3 separate regions of the Homo sapiens genome follow, and regions 1 and 3 are each linked to region 2. The links are contacts of gene promoters, found by promoter capture Hi-C in blood cells and fetal thymus (Javierre and others, 2016). All regions are on one chromosome and are shown on one strand. The core of a region is centred on a gene start or on the middle of the fragment in contact, and the rest is flanking DNA. Distances in the headings are between cores, read along the strand shown.

Evidence for each region. The method cuts DNA at HindIII sites, captures the fragments that hold promoters and counts their contacts. A CHiCAGO score of 5 or more calls a contact.
Region 1: a fragment that was not itself captured here is called in contact with the fragment with the promoter of LINC02869 in region 2 in 1 of 17 cell types (endothelial precursors); the score reaches 5.5 in endothelial precursors.
Region 3: a contact is called between a fragment that was not itself captured here and the fragment with the promoter of LINC02869 in region 2, in 1 of 17 cell types (naive B cells). The highest score is 6.4, in naive B cells.

The regions. Positions count from the first base shown.
Region 1 is chr1:219,058,911-219,062,790 of GRCh38, forward strand. No RefSeq gene overlaps it. Among named protein-coding and RNA genes, the nearest start is that of LYPLAL1-DT, 110 kb to the right of the region's middle. The HindIII fragment of the contact is 3,902 bases long and covers 1-3,737 here.
Region 2 is chr1:218,507,557-218,511,760 of GRCh38, forward strand. LINC02869 (long intergenic non-protein coding RNA 2869) reads left to right here and starts at 2,539. Exons shown (of 3, transcript NR_146760.1): 1 at 2,539-2,631. The HindIII fragment of the contact is 5,893 bases long and covers 852-4,204 here.
Region 3 is chr1:219,383,063-219,387,119 of GRCh38, forward strand. It overlaps a transcript of LYPLAL1 not described here. Among named protein-coding and RNA genes, the nearest start is that of LYPLAL1-AS1, 170 kb to the right of the region's middle. The HindIII fragment of the contact is 1,305 bases long and covers 1,196-2,500 here.

The sequences.
Region 1 (3,880 bases), core at 537-3,036, 550 kb after region 2:
TAAACAAAGAACTTAAATAGACCTTTCTCCAAGGAAGACATACAAGTAGTCAATATGTACATGAAAAGACTCTCAATATCACTAATATTCAGGAAAATGCAAATTAAAACCATAATGAGATATTACCTCATAATTCTCAAGATGACCATTATCAAAGAAACAACAAAAATGAAACAGAGAGCAACAAGAAATAACAAGTTTAGGCAAGGGTGTGGAGAAAAGGGAACCCTTGTGCACCATTGGTACAAATGTAACTTCTATAATCTTTATGAAAAACAATATGGAGGTTTCTCATCATTGAAAGTAGAAGTATCATATGATCCAGCAATCCCACTTCCAGGTATTTATTTAAATAATTCAAAACAGGGTCTTGAAATAATATGTGCACTTTCACTTTCATGTTCATTTTGGCATTAGTCACAATAGCCTAGATGTAAAAACAACTAAAATCCTTTGATGGATGAATGGATAAAGAAAATGTGGCATAATCATGCAATGGGATACTTTTCAGCCTTTAAAAAGAAAAAAAAATTATCCTATGCCATAACATGGGTGAACTTTGAGGATGTTATGTTAAGTGAAATTAGCTAGTTATAGAAGGACAAATACCACATGATTCTACTTATATGAGGTATCAAAAGTAGTAAAAACTCATAGAAATGGAAAGTTTAATGTTAGCTGCCAGTGACTCAGGGTAGGGGGAAATGGAGATTTGCTATGCAATGAATCTAGAGTTTCAGTCACGCAAGATGAAAAAGCTCTAGAGATGTGTTGTACAACAATGAGTAGGTGTCATATTATGTGTTTTTTTTACCACAATAAAGAAAAAATATAAATCATATAAAGTATCACCTTTGGCCACAACAAAATTAAACTAAAATTAAATAATGTGAATTCATCCTGAAAATACTAAAATATATGGAAATAAGGCAACATCTTTTTTTTTTTGCAACATTTTTTTTTTTGAGACGAGTTTCACTCTTGTTGCCCAGGCTAGAGTGCAATGGTGCGATCTCGGCTCACTGCAACCTCCGCCTCCCGGGTTCAAGCGATTCCCCTGCCTCTGGTTCCTGAGTAGCTGGGATTACAGGTATGTGCCACCACACCCAGCTAATTTTGTATTTTTTAGTACAGATGGAGTTTCTCCCTGTTAGTCAGGCTGGTCTCAAACTCCTGACCTCAGGTGATCCACCCACCTCGGCCTCCCAAATTGCTGGGACTGCAGGTGTGAGCCACCACGCCCAGCCCAACATACTTCTTAATGACCTCTGGGTCAAAAAAGGACTCATAAGGGAAATTAGAAAATATTTTGAACTAAAGGTAAATAGAAACACAAGTTAGTCAAGTTCCAATCAGTAGATAGAAACCACAGCAATATGTTCAACACGAACATTTTAGGGTGAAGAACTATTAACTAGTAAAGGGTTAATAATATAGGTAACTAGTGGAATATAGGAGTAATAAATGCAGAAACCATCCATTATTTCTGGTGAGTAAGAATACAGATGAAAGGAGTTTAGAAGTTGGAAGATATTCCCCTCCCCTTGCTTGTCTAAGTTACAGACTTTATTAGAGAGAGTATGACTACTACAAGCAACTACAATCTACCTATGGCAAACAAACTTGCCAGAGGTTGCAGCTAGAGCTCATTCATAAGAGGAATCCACTGGGTATCTGGAAAATTCAGTAGAGGGTCGGGTAGGCTGGAGCTGTTCTATGGAAACTCCCTGCAGAGTGTCCATGAAGTGACAGGCTGGTCAAAGGTGGTCCAAAGAAACAATCCATTGCTGAAATAATGGAGGGCCACGGCCACTATGCAGAAACAGGCCCTCGTGGCGGGTGCCTGTAATCCCAGCTACTTGGAGGCTGTAATCCCATCTACTGGGAGGCTGAGATAGGATAATCGCTTGAACCCACGAGGTGGAGGTTGCAGTGAGCCGAGATCAAACCATTGAACTCCAGCCTGGGCAACAGAGCCAGACTCTGTCTCAAAAAAAAAACAAAGAGGTCCTCATGTAGCACTGTCTTCCTAGAGCTCTTCCACCAGAAGCAGCCCTCTGAACTGCTGGAGAAACTCACTGACTGAGTACTGTTGAGCCGCCTGCACATCACTGGTTACTATGGGAGAAAAAGAAAAATCACACCAGAAAGAAGCCTCTTCCTTTGCTTTGTCTTGCAGTGATCCCCCAGCAACCACTAAGGCTAACATTAAGCAGCTGTCTAAAGGGAAATTTTTACAGGGTTCGTTTTTAGTTTCCCAAATCAGGACAAAAATAGATGGATGTGAGATGAGAATCAATTAATAACTAGCATAATAACATATCAAAATTTATAGACTGAAGCAAGAAAGTAGGATTTAGAGTGAAATTTATAGCATAAAATGCTTGTATCAGGAAGATAAACAAGGTCTCAAATCTGTAATATGTCATCCTTAAGTTCTCAAAAAAAAATCTGTGATATATTTTTCCACCTTAGGAAAAAAAGGAGGAAATTTAACCAAAATATGCAATAAAATAGAAAAAAATAAAAATAAGTATGGGAATAATTGAAAATGGAAACAGAAAAACAAGGGAAAATCGGATAAAACCAAAAGACGCTACTTTGAGAGGGTCAATAAAACTGATAAACAACTAGTCAGTCTGAACATACCAAAAAAGATATCAGGAATGAAAGAGGGAACATTAATACTGATTCTACAGGAATTAAAAGGATAATAAGGGAATGTTAGTAATATAGTCCTATACTAGTAACTAATTAAATTTATGGATAAAAATCTTCCCACAAGGAAAATTTCAGGTCCAGTTGATTTCATTGGGGAATTTAAAGAAATATATTTAAGTAGAAAATTGATACTAGGAGTTCTCCTCAAACTTCCAGAAAATAGATGAGAAGGAAAACCTTCCCAACTCCTTTTATGAGGCAAGCAGTACCCTGATGTCAAAAATGTCAAAGATATTACAAAAAAATAATAAATTGCTGACCAGTATCCCATGTTAACACAGACACAACAATTGTTACTTTCAGAAAATTAAATTAAGGAAAATATTTAAAAAGATAACACATCTTTACCAACCGGCTTTATCTCAAGAATGCAAGGTTGATTTTACATTTGAAAATCAATCCATGTATCTCATTGTTTATTACAATAAAGGAGAAAAGCCCTGTTAAATCAAGTTTGACTTAAAGCTGCCTCCTTACATATTTTAAGTTCGGCCTAAAGACTTAACTGTACATCTTGAATTATAACAAGTGGAGGTGTAAACAGACCCTAGCCTACCGTTGTGCCAGTGACTGAGTTTTGGCCAATCAAATGTAGCCAACTCTTTGAACCATTTTCAAATAAGGTAAACTCTGAGTTATAACCAATCCAGCTGTTTCTGTACCTCACTTTCCTTTTTCTTTCCATAAAATCTTCTTCTGCCACATGGTTGCACTAGCGTCTCTGAGCCTACTCTGACTCAGGAGGCTGCCGATTCGTGAATCATTCATTGCTCAATTAAACTCTTTTAAATTTAATTTGGCTGAAGTTTTTCTTTTATCAACCATAATAGATGCAGGAAAAGTATCTGACAAATTTTATTACCCATTTATGTTAAAAACTCTCAGCAAACTAAAAGAAGAAGGAAATTTCCTCAATTTAAACAAATTTTATATATATTTTTTGGTTTTTGGTTTTTGGGGTGTGTGTGTGTGTGTGTTTATACAAGTAACACAATAGTTAATGGTGAAACACTGAAAGCTTCCCCTCAAAAATCAACACCTATTCATAATATAAAAATTCTCAGCAAACCAAAAATTGAAGGCAACTTAGATATTCTGAAAAAAAAAATCTAGAAAAAAACAACGACTAACATCATATTTGGGGGTGGAACACTGAGTG
Region 2 (4,204 bases), core at 1,289-3,788:
AGGGCCCCCCTGCTGTATGCAGCCTTGTGACATGGTCCCTGTGTCCTAGGTGCTTTAGCATCAGCTGTGGCTATAAGAGGCCAAGGTACAACTCAGGCTATTGCTTCAGAGGGTGCAAGCCACAAGCCTGGGTGGTTTGCACAAGGTGTTGGGCCTGAAAGTGCACAGAAATCAAGAACTGAGGTTTGGGAACTTCCACCTAAATTTCAGAGGATATATGGAAATGCCTGGATGTCCAGTCAGAAGTTTGCCGCAGGGAAGGAGCCCTCATGGAGAACTTCTGCTAGGGCAGTGTGGGAGGGAAATGTGGGGTCACAGCCCCCACACAGAGTCCCCACTGGGGTACTGCCTAGTGGAGCTATGAGAAGAGGGCCCTCATCCTCCCATCCTCCAGACCCCAGAACAGTAGATCCACCAACAGCTTGCATGGTGAGCCTGGAAAAGCCATAGACAATGCCAGCCCATGAAAGTGTGTCCGGAATTGGTGGGTTCTTGGTCTCACTGACTTCAAGAATGAAGCCGCAGACCCTCACGGTGAGTGTTACAGTTCTTAAAGGTGGCATGTCCAGAGTTTGTTCCTTCTGATGTTCGAATGTGTTCGGAGTTTCTTCCTTCTGGTGGGTTTGTGGTCTTGCTGGCTCAGGAGTGAAGCTGCAGACCTTCGTGGTGAGTGTTACAGCTCTTAAGGCGGCGTGTCTGGAGTTGTTCATTCCTCCTGGTGGGTTCGTGGTCTCTCGCTGGCTTCAGGAGTGAAGCTGCAGACATTCGCGGCGAGTGTTACAGCTCATAAAGGCAGTGTGGACCCAAAGAGTGAGCAGCAGCAAGATTTATTGCAAGGAGCAAAAGAACAAAGCTTCCACAGTGTGGAAGTGGACCCAAGCAGGTTGCCACTGCTGGCTCGGGTAGCCTGCTTTTTTTCTTTTATCTGGCCCCACCCACATCCTACTAGGCTCATAGGCAGAAGGGACTTGCCTGGTCTCAATGAGACTGTGAACTTAAGACTTTTGGGTTAATGCTGAAATGAGTTAAGACTTTGGTGAACTGTTGGCATAATTGTGTCTGTTCTCATGTTGCAATAAAGAACTGCCTGTGACTGGGTAATTTATAAAGGAAAAAGGTTTAATTGACTCATAATTCCACAGGGGCTCAGGAAACTTACAATCATGGCAGAAGGGGAGGCAAATGTGTCCTTCTTCACATGGTGGCGAGAGAGAAGTGCCAAACAAAGGTGGAAAAACACTTGATAAAACCATCAGATCTTGTGAGAACTCACTTGCTATCATTAGAAGAGCATGAGAGAACCATCCCATAATCTAATCACCTCCCATGAGTTCCCTCCCCAACAGGTGGGGATTACAATTCAGATTACAATTCAAGATGGGATTTCAGTGGGGACACAGATCCAGACCATATCATTCTGCCCCTGGTCCCTCCCAAATCTCACCTTTCTCACATTTCAAAACACAATTATGCCAACAGTTCCCCAGCATAATAAAGTGCACAATAAATGTAATGTGCTTGAATCATGCTGAAACCATCACCTGCCGGCACTCCCCCTGCCCACCCCCTATGGTTTGTGGAAAAATTGTCTTCCACAAAACCAGTCCCTAGTGCCAAAAAGGTTGGGGGACTGCTGATCTATGGGACTATTGGGTTGGTTTCAGTGTGAGGTGCTGGTGACTGGCACCAGAGTGGGAGCAGTCAATACACCAGGGTATTATCATTGGTTGTCTCTGAGTGTTAAGATTATGGACTATTTTTCTGCTTCTTTGTGTATTTTTAGTCTTTGCACATGTTCTACAAAGAATAAATTACTTGTGTAATCATAGGAAATAAATACTACCTCTTACCCTCTCCCCTGCCCCAGTCTGGCATAATTGAAAAATGAACGCTTAGAGAAAGGAGGTCACCCAAGATCAGACTTCAGAATTCAAATTTAATAAGATCTACTTGTTATTCACGATAGAGTTTGTCAAACATTTTCACCAAATTTTAGCAACAAGTTTGAGTGCTGCAGGAGATAACGAGAAGTGAAAAGATGGTGAGGGAGACAAAACAAAACAAAATTGGCAAAGAAAAAGATGGCATTTTAAATAGCAACACGAACAGTCTGCCTAAGGACTAATCTACTGTGTGAGAAAATGATTTTTAATTGAAAAGTTCTTTTTGAGAAAGTTTTTTAAAAGTCTTATATAAAAATATGGAATATATAAGAATTTAACTAATACCTTGTGTTTAGGGTGCATTATAACTGTATAAGGAATTTTTACATGAAAATTTGGGAGAACAAGAGAGAACATCATGTAATAATGTGATTAAACTTGTTACTCAGCCATTTTACAAATTCTGGAATATAAAGGACAAGGTAGAGTATGTTCCAAGGCAGGCAGTGGCCACACACTGCTTGGCTTGTAGGCCCTATTAGGGATTTTGGTGTTTCTCCTAAAAACCAGTGGAAAACCACTGAAGTATTTTAAGCAAGAAGTAGCTTGATCAGGCTTGAGTTTCAAAAGGTTCACTTTTTTTTTTTTTTAAACAGGGGTCATATCAGAAAGATATGTTTGATGAAATTAACTACAGAATCAAGAAGTATATACTCAAAAATGCAAATACTACAATATATAAGACAATGTAAGTACATTTTCATTAAAAAATGAATTGTGTGAGTCCCAGAAGTTACAAGATTACACCGAGAAGAACGAGTGATCATAAAGTAAAAATATTCACGATTGAACTGACCACTTATGGAACTAACCCATGCTGTACTTTCTCCCACAACGTGGCCCTGGTTTCTGTTTCTATCGTCTCTGTTCCACCTCTGTCCATCTTATGTTATCTGTCTCTCATTGACTGTTGGTGGTTGACAATACCATGTGAACACAGAGTGAAATTACATCTCTTACAAAATATGAAGGATTTCATACAGACAATAAAGGTGATATTGGAGAACTGCTTCACCAATCATGGTCATTAACTGTGAGGATCTGTGAGACTTTAACCAGCACAGCATCACTGTGGCTGACTCAGCAATTTTTTTCCACTACCAATGATTAACCTAAGCAGATGATGGTAGTCCTGTTCCTTTTACCACTTATTTATTTCAGAATGAGTTAAGCAGGCATTAAAAGCGGACTATAACTGAGGGTCTCTTTTTAAGATTTTCAAGTTGGAAAATTCTGCTTTGATGCTAAGAGGCAGAATAAAACCCAGAAAGATTCATTCAATCTGACTTATTAATATTTGGAAGAGGTCAGTTTATTCTGCTCAGTTCAATTAAAATCAAATAACTTTAGTGGATAGGAATTATTCAAAAGTTTTTAATACTAGGATCTATTACTCTAGGCAAGCCATACCTAAGTAATCTATACAGTTAGGGGCAGGCTAATTTCAGGCAGCAGGAAACAGTCAGCTAAAATAGAGCAGAGACGGAGGAAAATACCACTTGGAGTGCCACTCACATGTTTAAGGGCAGACATGAAAAGGTAGGCAAGTGTTTCTCTTTCTTTTGGCAAGCATTTTATAGGAAAAATTCTACAAAGCTAGGAGACTACCTGGTAAAGCTAAGCCCATTTAGAAGGGGAGGGAAGGAAGAAAATAATGCAAAAAGTCAGAGTTCAGTATTGACAAGGGATCTTTTCATTGCATGTGATTGATGACTGACGGTTTGCCCCTGCTTTTTGATTCCTGTTTGCTGATTTCCCATTTTATTTACCCATAATCCACTCATTACTCTGATAAACCATGGAAGCAGTGGTCCACAAATCTGTGTTAGTTTCTCTGTTCTCTCTGCAGTCTTTTAGAGGTACCTGCTAACACAGCTTTAAAGATCCCCTGTAAGTCAAAATTAGCTATGCTTGGTGGCACATGCCCATAGTCCCAGCTACTTGGGAGGCTGAGGCAGGAGAATTGCTTGAACCCGAGAGGTGGAGGTTGCAGTAAGCAGAGATCACGCCTGGGTGACAGAGCAAGACTCCATCTCAAAAAAAAAAAAAAAAAAAGAAAAATCCCCTGTAAGTTAATGACTTCCACTTTCTATCTCTTGCCTTGAACGCCCATACTTCCTTCTCCCTACAGATAATCTACCTTGAAAGAATTTGCCACCATCTCACTAAACAGGTCAGTTTAATAAAATCATTGACTCCTAATAATCTTTGCCGCTGCGGTGTTCCTGGGCACTAGGCTGGTGCTTCTTAACTCTGGCTGC
Region 3 (4,057 bases), core at 598-3,097, 870 kb after region 2:
AAGTCAAAAACCAACAACAAAACAACAATAGCTGCTCACTACGTGGTTCCATGTAGACCTCATGTCAATTTCCAGACTATCATACTATTGTTTTCTAGTCTAGGAAAGTCTTGAATTACAGATCATTCCCACTAAAGCATATTCACTTGTCCTAAGAACATTTACTTCTTCACTTTATATTCTACTCAAAACTCAAGTCAGTCCCTTTGGTCCTAAGATATGAAAAGCACCAAATCCACAGATAGTTTGAGTTGATATTTCAAAGCTTTGAAAGTGAAATATAAGAAATTGTATTGGACTTGTGATAAATGAGAAATGTAGTGGCATATTTATGACACTTTAACTAATTGGGCTGGTCATTGTGCTTCCTGGCTCAGATGTATCACTGCACTACCACAGGTCAATATACTTCAGGTGGTGTTCTCAACTCAGAAATATGCACAGGCCACATCTCTGATGGAGCTCTTGGCAAATCACTTGAATTACATTCCCTAATATTCAACAGATGCCTATAACCCACATGGCAAACAGATACATTCAGTCAGTAGTTCACCATAACATTATATTGAAACAAATACAAGAACCCATGCATAATATTTAATAAAAACACAAAGAACTATAAATGGCATAACTCCAGAGTTCATTACTGCTCAAACTGTCTCAACTTTCATAGTAGCATATATTCCACTGACCAAATCAGTGTGTATTTATCGTGAGATTCTCTCTCTTTGGCAGAGAAAGCAAGTGGAATATTCAACGTGAGCTTGATTTAGAATAGATAGAGGCAGACAGACCTTGCAGCTTTGGACGTTACTGAAAAGAGAAGTGATTTATGATGTCATTTCTGTTTACATATAGTTCATTTTCTGTTAGGGCTATAGCATTTTCTTCAAGTAAAAAGGCTTCTTGGGATGGTATCTCACCACTCCCCTCCTCTTCCCAGCCAACCTTCCCCTCTCCTTCCCTACTGTTTTCCTCTCCTTCACAGCCCATATGTCTTATAAGACAAGTTTCACTTGAAAATGAACAAAACTCTGTGAAGAAGTGAGGTCAAAGTTAGAAATGCGAACATCCATTTTCATCTTTACCAGTGATTCCAAATTCTTGTGATTCATTTATGGGAAAAGGAAGAGCAGTAAAACAGATAGGGCAAAATAGAAAAATCTTCCTTAGACACCCATTATCCTAATGGCAAAGCTTCTAATGGGTAAAGGAAACTGTTGAGAGGTGATACTCTTGCCAGTTTTTAAAATTCTGTATTTGCACTGTAATTAACAAAGAATAACCACTTGCAGTTTCAATTATAGCAAATGCTCTTCTCCATCATGTCCCTCAAACTACATTTGAATGATACCTCTGTTGGCAATCAAGAAGCATTTGGGAGGCATTCCAGCAGTGGTTTTTAGGTGAAGATATTTGATCCCTCTGTTTATATATTCTTGTTTAGTGTAGAATCATCTCAGATCAAAGGTAATGTCAATTGATTGAATTAAAATGTATAGAATAAAATCCACAAATTAGGTCGGATGTCTGATTATGATCTTTGATCAAAAAAAGTACATGAAACACATTTTCTGAATATTTAAAGTGCTGTCAAGTATAGTATAATACCACATGTTGTAAGGAGTTTAATAAACACAAATCAGTCGAATTTATTTGTATTGTTTGATCTGTTTTATTGTCATAAAATATGTATGGAAATGACATATACAGAAGCAGCATTCCTAAATAACCTGGCATTGATAAAATAAGGAGAAATTCATCAAACAGAAATATATATAGCTCATCCAGAGACTACAGAGCATTCTGATATAATTACTGTGATTCTGTTTCATTGCCAACAAATGAGGAAAGAGACTGCGTAGTAATTCTCTACTCCCACATACTTTTGGTTGTACAACAGGTCCAAATAAGACTCTACGGATCTTGGATCGTCCAGACTATATGACTTGACTATTGGTGGGCTTTTTCTCCCAGTAATGTTCTGCAGGTGGTGGTGGGGGAGGTCAGTAAACCTATAAGTTGGCTGTAAATATGCCCTCCAGAGATCTGCTGGGGATTTTAAACATTTTAGATACAAGGCAGAATCAACTCATTTTGAAAAGAAAGCACTCTATGCCTGGAGAATACACCTTCCATTGGGCAAAGAAAAAAACTCTGCCAGAATCGAACTTCTATACCCAGGAATACCATGGCATGATTCCAATAGGTTCAGTTCTGAGATAGAGTGGAAGGCTAAACTCCAGGGCTGCTTCTTGCAGTTCCTCCAGCCCAATACCTTAGTCTGAATCCCAAAGCCACTCAAAAAATTGTTCAAAAGTTTGCAACAGATGGGTTCAAAATCTAATGCATTTAGAAATAGTTGGCCTATCCTTGAGGTATTTGAGCACAATATATGTGATAATATATGTCACTTTTAAAGCAGTGTTCCACTGTTATAGCACGAGTCCTCATTTTGGACTCTAAAAATAATTTTATATTATGTCTATATTTGTTAAGAAGCTTGTAGAAAAAAGTGTTTGGGGTAGACCAGTAGGGCAAGGGGAAGGGCAATAAAGAGGAAAGCTTCCCATATTCTGCATTAGTTTAATTTCTTTTTTCTCTTTGCAAGCTTTAAAAAGAAGGGGGAAAGGATGAAATTATTTGAAGGAACAAGAGGGTAAAGAAATAAAGATAAACAGAGTTAAGATGTAATTGCACGCTGTAATTTGCTAACAAAGAATTTTGTAGGTTGCCAACCTGTATAAATTACATACAGTTGGGAAAAGACTTCCAAGCAGAGAGAAATATAATTGCTTCATCTATTTTTTTTCTCAGTCAGTGTTTCTAACACTAACTCTATTGTATGACTGAACTGTACAAAATTACACTAGTTTCACAGATAGCCTTTGAAACACATTGTTGTAGGCCCTGAGACCTCCAAACTATCACCTGTGTGGTGAGAGCCCTCTAGTGGATGGGGGACTCCAAGCATGCAATGTCCGGAGCTTTGCCTGGAAAGGTGAAAAATTCAGTCATCTCACATTACCACTGGGCAACAGAGGGGAGACGGCAGAGCTTTCTGGGTGTATTTCTCTAGCTCAAATGTAAAATGGGAAGCCTACCTCCTCTGCCAGTTGCCATTTAACATTTCTATTCTTCCAGAGTGTTACACCCTTTCCTTGACATTCTGACAAATCTTTGGGTAGAACCAGTAAACAATGGCCTTTGGATTACTGTAGAGAAGAGAGGGTTCTGCATTAAGAGAAAGTGAACCATTATTCTAACACTATTCCGTCAGAAAACTAGCTGTATGACTGACTGATGGCTGATTTATCATAACCAATATATTTCCCTGAAATTTGAAGAGGAATTGGAGATTCCTCCTAAGTTGCCAGGAATTATTTAGAAATGTGTGGCCATATAGCCAGAGTTCTCCCAGTGGCTCTCTTCTCTTTCCTGGTTGTTGCTTTTTAGTCTCCTTTGTTAATTTCCCCCTATACTGGACCTTTAAACCTTGGATCAACTTGAGGCCTCTTCTCTTCTGACTTTGTACAATCTTAAGACATCTCAAGGATATATACTAATAAATGTTAAATTAAAAATTGTACCCAGATCTTCTTTCTTAGACTCTTCCTTTTAGATGTCTCATAAGAGCTTCAAGCTCAATAGAAACAGAAGTGAACTTAACCCAAATCTGCCCCCTTTCTTGTGTTTCTAATCAAAGCAAATGACAACCTACAAACACGACCATCTTTTTGAATTTTCCTCCTTCTTGGGACGCATAATCATCAAGTCAATAAATTCCACCTCTGATATTGCTTTCAAATTTATTCCCTCTATCTATTTTAACCATCATCACTAGCCTAACCCAAGCCATACAAACCAGTGCTATCACTTTCTAACAAATATTCCTGTATCTATCCCCTAATCCACTATTTTAACAATGCAGACCTGATCATACCATTTCTCTGCTTTAAATCTTTGATGACTGTTATGATAAATTTCCATATTCTTTTTATGGTCTCAAAATCCTGCATAATCTGGACACTGCTTATCTCTCCAGTCTCTCTTCCCC